Regions from separate parts of the Homo sapiens genome. Here region 1 is linked to region 2. Evidence: promoter capture Hi-C in human tissues and cell types (Jung and others, 2019). All regions are on one chromosome and are shown on one strand. Each heading gives the region's core, a stretch centred on a gene start or on the middle of the fragment in contact. The rest is flanking DNA. Distances are from core to core; before and after follow the strand shown. Region 1 has its middle 28 kb from the start of ZNF701. Region 2 holds the start of ZNF610 (zinc finger protein 610).

Region 1 (4,422 bases), core at 700-3,199, 260 kb after region 2:
ACATCACGTAACCCATTCAGGAGAGAAACAGTATAAATGTGATGTATGTGGCAAAGTCTTTCATCAGAAGCAATACCTTGCATGGCACCATAGTGTTCATACTGGAGAAAAACCTTACAAGTGTAATGAGTGTTCCAAGACCTTCAATCAGAAGTCATCCCTTCAGTGTCATCATAGACTTCATACTGTACAGAAACATTACAAATGTGAAGAATGCAACAAAGTTTAGAGTTGAGGATCACAACTTGAAACACACAGGAGAATTCATACTGGAGAAAAACCATACAAACGTAAGGTTTGTGACAAGGCTTTCTGGGATAATTCATGCCTTTCATGCCGTAAGAGTTCATACTGGAGAGAAATGTTACACATGTAACGAATGTGGCAAGGCTTTTAGTAGAAAAGCAAACCTTGCACATCATGGACTTCATACTGGAGGGAAATCTTACAAATGTAAGGGTTGTGACAAGGTTTTCCACCATGATTTATGCCTTGCACAACATCAGAGAGTTCATACTGGAGAGAACCTTACACATTTCACGAGTATGGAAAGACCTTTGCTCAAAATTCAGCCCTTGTAATGCATAAGGCAATTCATACTGGAAAGAAACCTTACACATGTAATGAATGTGGCAAGGTTTTTAGTAGAAAAGCACACCTTGCATGTCATCATAGACTTCATACTGTCTAAGGTTTCTAATCAACAATCAAACCTTGCACAACATCAGAGAGTTTATACTGGAGAGAAACCTTACAAGTGTAATGAGTGGGGCAAAGCCTTAAGTGGGAAGTCGTCACTTTTTTATCATCAAGCAATCCATGGTGTAGGGAAACTTTGCAAATGTAATGATTGTCACAAAGTCTTCAGTAATGCTACAACCATTGCAAATCACTGGAGAATCCATAATGAAGACAGATCTTACAAGTGTAATAAATGTGGTAAAATTTTCAGACATCGATCATATCTTGCAGTTTATCAGCGAACTCATACTGGAGAGAAACCTTACAAATATCATGACTGTGGCAAGGTCTTCAGTCAAGCTTCATCCTATGCAAAACATAGGAGAATTCATACAGGAGAGAAACCTCACAAGTGTGATGATTGTGGCAAAGTCTTGACTTCACGTTCACACCTCATTAGACATCAGAGAATCCATACTGGACAGAAATCTTACAAATGTCTTAAGTGTGGCAAGGTCTTCAGTCTGTGGGCACTCCATGCAGAACATCAGAAAATTCATTTTTGAGATAACTGTTCCAAATACAGTGACTATAGAAGATCATAAAGCTTTAATTGACATTAGAGCCAAATAGGCATTGACTTGAGATTGAGTTGACTTAACCTTGAGTTTAAGAATTAATTTACATTAAAGTGTTTATGTTAAGAAGATTGGGCCAGGTGGGGTGGCTCATGCCTGTAATCCCAGCACTTTGGGAGCCCAAGGCTGATAGATCACAGCCACACCTGGCTATGAGAGTGTGTAGGTGGCCGTTGGGGTGGGACCTGATTAGAAGGGGCAGGGCCTTGAACAGAATCTGGGCGGGGCAAGAATGAGGAGGCTGCCTGGAGGCCGGGCCAGAGGGTGATCGTCATCTTGAGGGCAAGGTCTGGAAGTGGTGTTTTGAAGGGCAGGGTCTCGAGGGGGCGGGTCCTGGCTTTCTCCTCAGCTGGACCCCAGGTGTCGTCTGCTGTCATCCTCTTGCCCTGCAGGACTAGATTCTCCGGGTACTAATTGGTGGATAGTTTCTGATGTGCCGTGATATTACCCCTAATATCACAGGGATGCCTCCTGTCCATTTTAGAGACTTGCTCTGTCGCCCAGGCTGGAGGGCAGTGGCGCGATCTCGGCTCATTGCAAGCTCCGCCTCCCGGGTTCATGCCATTCTCCTGCCTCAGCCTCCCGAGTAGCTGGGACTACAGGCGCCCGCCACCATGCCTGGCTAATTTTTTGTATTTTCAGTAGAGACGGGGTTTCACTGTGTTAGCCAGGATGGTCTCGATCTCCTGACCTCGTGATCCGCCCGCCTCGGCCTCCCAAAGTGCTGGGATTACAGGCGCGAGCCACCGCGCCCGGCCCCTAAGTTAATATTTCAAACAATCGAAGGTAAAACAACATATTGTGTTGGGCCACCTGTACTGAACGCTGAATCGTTTTTCCTCTTAAGTTGAAAATGGTTTTAATGCAAAGCGCCTTTTTTGAGCAGGTAGAGTCACGCATCCGGCAGGCGGGGCGAGCTCCCCTCTGTCTGGGGCAGGGTGGGGGAGAGGGGCAGGGACCTCGGTAAAGGGGTGGAGTGGCGCGCTGGTTGCCGCGGGCACTGGCAATTAGAAGGGATTATTAAACTAAGCAAGGTCCTGGGTTGTTTGAGTGGATAATGGAAACTGAAAGGTGACGTGCAAAACTGCCTATTACTCCCAGGAGTGGAGGATAATTTCATATTTCATGGAAATAAACTCAGGGCCCGGAGCGGTGGCTCACACCTGTAATCCCAGCACTTTGAGAGGCCAAGGAGGGAGGATCGCTTAAGCCCAGGAATTCGAAATCAGCCTAGGCAACATAGTAAGACCTCATCTCTACTAAAAATAAAAAAAAACAGCCAGGTGTGTTAGTCCACACCTGTGGTCCCAGCTGCTTGGGGTGCTGAGGTGGGAGGATCACTTGAGCCAGAAAGTTGGAGGCTGCAGTGAGCTCTGATCTTGCCACCACACTCCAGCCTGGGTGAAAAAGCTAGACCCTGTCTCAAACAAGCAAATAAATGAGAGGTATAAGTCCTCCTTTAAAAGTAAAGGAAGAGATTTTTCTTTCCTTTTGTCTCTTAGAACATTCAATTAGAAAATTTGTAAATTCATTTTCTCTGTCTTCTGAGGTTTTTTTTTTTAGACAGAGTTTTTCTCTTGTTACCCAGGCTTGAGTGCAAGCCACGATCTCGCCTCACCACAACCTCCGTCTCCCGAGTTCAAGCGATTCTCCTGCCTCAGCTTCCCGAGTAGCTGGGATTACAGGTATGAACCACTATGCCCGGCTAACTTTGTTTTTTTTTTTTAGAAATTAAACCTTTTTTCAGCTTAATGACCCAGGGGTGTATTTTTGAAGGACTTGGGAGCTCTCTTTGAAAGGCAAACAACAAGGGAAACAGTACCTTTATCTCAGTAGGAAATTAAATAATTCAAACATCAAATAACTTCAATTTAAGGCTATGGACTTTGAGATAATTCTGAGCCTTGAGAGGAATGTGGTCAGGCAACCTGAGTCCAGTGGAATGCAGGTGCAACTTCTAAGAGTTTTCCTGTAAGTAATTAAGAAGACTAAGTAGCCCCAGAGATAAGACCTCCTCGGATCATTGTCCCTTCTTATGTAGTGATAAAGTAACCTTCCTTGAAGTGTATCTATCCGTAATCAATCAAGTTGCTGCAGCCTATGCACTGGCCCAGAATAAAAAACGTGGTGATTCTGCTAAAGCTTCTCTGTCTTTCCCTGTGTGTGAAATCTTAACGTCTCTACTTGGGAACGCTGATCCCATTCATTTAGAGTTGATGTTTCCACGTGGCTATTTCCAAGCTTTGCCTTCAAATAAATTCTGTACTTAATCATATATTCTAAATTTTATTATTTACTGCTGACATCAGTTTCTGTCGGATTGTAGGAGCCTCACCAGAGAGGGCCCCTGTCGCCATGTTGTAAAACTCACACTTGCCAAAAGTTGTGGGTTAGGGTTTCTCCCCCTCCCTCAGGATGACGCTAGTTAGCTGACACAGATGGTCACCTCCATTACCAAGTAGAGTCAGGATGAACTATGTGTGACTGTTCAACTATGTGTCCTCTTCCCTGAGGACTGATTAGTGTTTATCTTGAAAACATGTCCTTAATGGGTTGTATAGAACACTGAAGCATCTGATTTCAAACTCTTAGCTCTTTTCCTCTATTTCCCATCACATTCTGGTCTAAGGCTTATTTATTAATAAAATGATTTTTATTTCTTTATTATCGTGGAGATGATTTTTCATTTGGGGGAAGATCATTTTGTTTTCAAATATATTGTCTCAACATTTAAATAGTGAAGTAAAGAGTATTTCTTGTGCCAGGCATGGTGGCTCACGCCTGTAATCACAGCACTCTGGGAGGCCAAGGCAGGCAGATCACTTCAAGTCAGGAGTTTGAGACCAGCCTGGCCAACATGGTGAAACCCCATCTCTACCAATTATACAAAAATTAGCCGGACATGGTGGCGCGCTTGTAATGCCAGCTATTCCGGAGGGTGAGGCAGGAGAATCACTTCAACACAGGGTGTACAGGCTGCACTGAGCCGAGACCTTGCCACTGCACTCCAGCCTGGACGACAGAGAAATACTCTGTCTTAAAAAAAAAAAAAGGAAATTAAGAAAGTAATAGATCTCCTCCACAAATGTGCTGGGACAACTAA
Region 2 (4,492 bases), core at 1,181-3,680:
AGTGTAGTGAAAAACTTATGCATGAATGACTGTCTTAACCTACTGATTACAGATAGTCTTTGATTTGTGCTTGCTAAAAGAGTCCTAAATTGAGTTCTCCAGCTATGGAGTCACTGTTTTCAAGACTGTTTGCCAGATTAAACTCCATAAACTTGGTCACATCCCACAGGCCTTCAGCTCCCTGCAGAAAAGAACATGAGTTAAAACCAAAGAAATCAGAATAAATTATGAATAAGTTGATGGTAGTATATCAACAATGGTTTATAAACTGTAAAACCCATACAAAACTAGTATAAGATGTTAATAATAGGGAAAACGGGTCAGGGTATATGGAACTTGTCTACCTTTTTTGAATTTTTTAAATATAAATCTATAAATCTTCTAAAATAAAGTGTATTAGTTTTTTAAATAACTAATTTAGGCCGGGCTTGGTGGCTCACGCCTGTAATCCCAGCACTTTGGGAGGCCAAGGCAGGTGGATCACGAGGTCAGAAGTTCAAGACCAGCCTGACCAACTTAGTGAAATCCCGTCTCTACTAAAAATACAAAACTTAGCCAGGCATGGTGGCACGTGCCTGTAGTCCCAGCTACTCGGGAGGCTGAGGCAGGAGAATTGGTTGAACCCGGGAGTTGGAGGTTGCAGTGAGCTGAGATTGCGCCACTGCACTCCAGCATGGGTATTGGAGTGAGACTTTGTCTCAAAAATAAAATAAAATAAAGTAATTTATAAAATTAAATGAATATTGACTGGAAACACAGATGAAACAAATTTTCTAGGAAAATGTACTCTACCAATTTTGACAGTAGTAGAGACAGAAAATCTAAACAGAATGTAAGATGAAACATATAAGATGATTTAACAGAGAAATTGCACCAATCTTTCAGGCAGGAGAATCACCTGAGGTCAGGAGTTTGAGACCAGCCTGTCCAACATGGTGAAACCGTGTCTGTACTAAAAATACAAAAATTAGCCAAGCACTGTGGTGCAAGCCTGTAGCCCCAGCTACTTGGGAGGCTGAGGCTGGAGAGTCGCTTGAACCGGGGAGGCAGAGGCTACAGTGAGCTGAAACCGTGTCACTGCACTCCAGCCTGGGTGACAGAGCAAGACTCTGTCTCAAAAACAAACACACACACACACACACACACAATGTAATTTACATCTATTTTTTAAAGTTATTGGTTTTTTTAAAAGCAACAGTTGGGCCGGGTGCAGTGGCTCACCCCTGTAATCCCAGCACTTTGGGGGCCGGGGCGTGGGGGGGGGGTGTGGATCACGAGGTCAGGAGATCGAGACCATCCTGGCTAACACGGTGAAACCCCATCTCTACTAAAAATACAAAAAATTAGGCGGGCGTGGTGGTGGGTGCCTGTGGTCCCAGCTACTCAGGAGGCTGAGGCAGGAGAATGGCGTGAACCCAGGAGGCGGAGCTTGCAGTGAGCCTGGGTGACAGAGCGAGACTCCGTCTCAAGAAAAAAAAGCAGTTGGTGGTGGCCTAACATCCCTCCGGGGACAGGACCCATCGCCGAACGATGGGTATGGTGGCATGTGCCTGTAGCGTTTTTAACACACAGGGAAGCGACCGCCAGACTCTCACGGAGATGCCCCGTTCGTTCTGCCTTGGGCCAGGTAAATACGGATTCCCAGGTTGGCCTTAACCCTCCAACGCGCTTGGCGTTGTCCCTCGGAAACTCTCTAGAGATGAGCACTCTAGAGATGACTCAGTGGACTGGGAAAGGCAGACCCACCTCAATTTGGGTGGGCACAATCTAATCAGCTGCCAGCACAGTCAGAATAAAAGCAGGCAGAAGAACGTGAAAACACTAGACGGGCTTAACCTCCCAGCCTACATCTTTCTCCCGTGCTGGAGATCAGAGATGATGATGGAAAGGGAGAAGATTTCTATTATGTTCTGTGGGCCGTCAGCATGAAATTGCACATGCTACCCAGGCAGGGCTTTGCATTTCACATTTTAACTTGCATCGCCTTCACACAGAATTCCAGGCCTTTTAAATTAAATTGTTAAAATTAGTTTTTATTTACTTATTTATTTTAGGACAGAGTCTACACTGAGTATAGCACTGGGTCTACACTACGCCCAGGCTGGAGTGCAGTGGCCATGATAGCTCAGTGTAGACTCGAACTCCTGGGCTGAAGCGATCCTCCAGCCTCAGCCTCTCTAGTCGCTGGGACTACAGGTGCCTGCCACCACGGCCGGCTTAAAATTGATTTTAATAGCAGGAAATTTCCTGGATCTAATCCTCAACTGACGTTGCTTTGCTCCGGCAGGATCCCAGTTTGCAGAGGGCTGAGCTGCTCCAGCCTCACTGCCAGCAAAACCCGGAAAACAGAGGCACTGGAGGCGTGGCCTAGGGAAGCCCCGCCCCGTCCCGTCCCGGTCCGCTCTCTATGCTGCGCGCGCGCAGTTTTTTGCAGACCCGGAAGCGGATCGCGTGGGTAGAAGGTCACACCGCAGCGCGTCAGTTTCCCTTTGTTTAGATTCAATCTGGGCTTCCCAGCTCCCCCGCGCTTCTGTACCCGGGATCTGAGAGTCAACACAGACCTTGAAATCCCCGCACCGCTCCCTCCACCCCGTGTAAATTCAGGCGTCTCCGTGAGAGTCCGGCGCTCGCTTCCCTGTGTGTTAAAATCGCTCGGCGACGGGTCCTGTCCCCGCTCGTTCTGCCTTGGGCCAGGTAAACACGGATTTTCGAGACTCCTTTCCGCTTAAAACTCTTTACTGACCCAACGTCCTGCCCCGCGCTTTTAAAAGTCCTTACCGCAAGGTGGATTCCCGCCCGGGGAGCCTCCCAACCTCGCCCCCGGCCCCTGAAGCGCAGCGCCGCAGCCCCAGTCCCGGCGGGGGAGGCCGCGTCCTGTACTGGGTCCTGGGACCCTTGAGACCCCACACTTCTAATAATTCAGCCCCACCCTTTTCCTCCTTGATCCGGGCCTTCCTACTCCCCAGGCCTCCCCTTCGCAGCCATCGCTACTCCCGACCCCCGGGTGTGGGGACGTGACTTCTTCTGTCTTAGGACATTCAGGATTCTTCGTCCCAAATTCCATCCCACTAAAAATGTGCTCTTGGCGGAGGTGGGCACCTTATTGTACTCCCCTGCCTATGGATGTGTGGGGAAAGATGGTGAAAGAGTGGCAGGAAATAGAAAAATTTTGAAAAAGAAGCATGAGGGAGATCCATAAGCAGACGGCAGAGAGTAGCTGAGAGATTTACAGAGACAGTGAATGAAGCCGAGAATGTAGCAGGGGGAGAAAAGTAACTGGAGAAATGTAGAGAAAAGCTGGGTCTCCAGAGAGATGAAGATGAAGCAAGATTGGGAGAGGGGCAGAAAGGGGGAGGCTCCTCAGACAGAGTAGGGGAGAGGAGGAGGGATTTGGAGCCAGGGCAGACAGAGCAGCATGGTGCTGGGACAGCAAGAGGGGGCAGCTGATGACAAGGAGAGCAGAGGGAGAACCACAGCATGGGGAGGCCTGGGATCCGGGGGGGCCAGAGAGTGGGGACAAGAGAGTGTAGCAGGGAAGAGGAAATTTAACAGGGAGAACAGAGAGGAAGCAGAGATAGGGAGGGCAAGAAACAGGCAGAATGGAAATTGGGGACAATCAAAAATTGGACACAAAGAGGAACAAGGGGTAAAACAAATTGCCAGAATGGAGCAGAACAAATGGAAGAGAAGGAATAGAGGGAAGAGGGGGAGAAACAGCAGGAGAGGAGAGGGGCAGAAAAATAAGCCAATTCTTATGGGAAAAATGAAGTGAAAAAAAGCAGGAGAAAGAAGGTAAGAATGAGAGAGCTGTACAGAATGAGGGAGGGAAACATACTAATGACAAAAGAGGGGGAACCTGAGTGCAGATGAGCGATGAGTTGATGGACTATTATGATCAAATTGTGATATACTGATTTCTCTAATTGTAATCTAATAAGCACAAAATTTATTTCAAAAGTACAGATGAAGATGAGACTTGCAAAGTTCCTGCCTATAAGGGAAGTGCATTTTATAATTCTTGACATCACAAGTTAGCTTCCATTCACAATCCCTGTTCAGCCAGAGGGCAGTGACTTGCCTCATTCGGGTGTGGGTGAGTGGGTAAGACAGGAGGAAAAACCAAAGCGTTTTTCCTACGCTTACAATCAACACAATAGTGAACACCCAACACAGAATGCCACATCTCTGGTCACCAAAATGTGTTGGGGATTACTTCCCACCCACAAGCAGTTCATCAGACACCACCTGGGTGTTGTGTAATTTAACTCAATTTCACACTAACACTATCTATGTGGAGTTAGCCTCAGATTCTACAGGTTGAGAGCTCAGTTCCACAGGCATGCTCCCACTTCAGGTGCCACTTGCAAGTCCTGGGTTGGGACTTGAACCTTGTGACCAACCAACTATGAACCGGGGGTTCCCATGACCCTTTCCTCACATTTTGTGAATTTGCTAGAGTGGTTCACAGAACTCAGGGAAACTTTTTGCTTAG

The links. Contacts are between HindIII fragments. The study calls those that stand out against the background at their distance.
Region 1: a fragment that was not itself captured here is called in contact with the fragment with the promoter of ZNF610 in region 2 in 2 of the 25 tissues and cell types used here (H1 embryonic stem cells and small bowel).

Annotation. Positions count from the first base shown.
Region 1 is chr19:52,596,167-52,600,588 of GRCh38, forward strand. It overlaps a transcript of ZNF701 not described here and the pseudogene ZNF137P. Among named protein-coding and RNA genes, the nearest start is that of ZNF701, 28 kb to the left of the region's middle. The HindIII fragment of the contact is 3,122 bases long and covers 389-3,510 here.
Region 2 is chr19:52,333,813-52,338,304 of GRCh38, forward strand. ZNF610 (zinc finger protein 610) reads left to right here and starts at 2,431. Exons shown (of 6, transcript NM_001161425.2): 1 at 2,431-2,694. RefSeq lists an enhancer at 4,215-4,492. The HindIII fragment of the contact is 24,712 bases long and covers 1-4,492 here.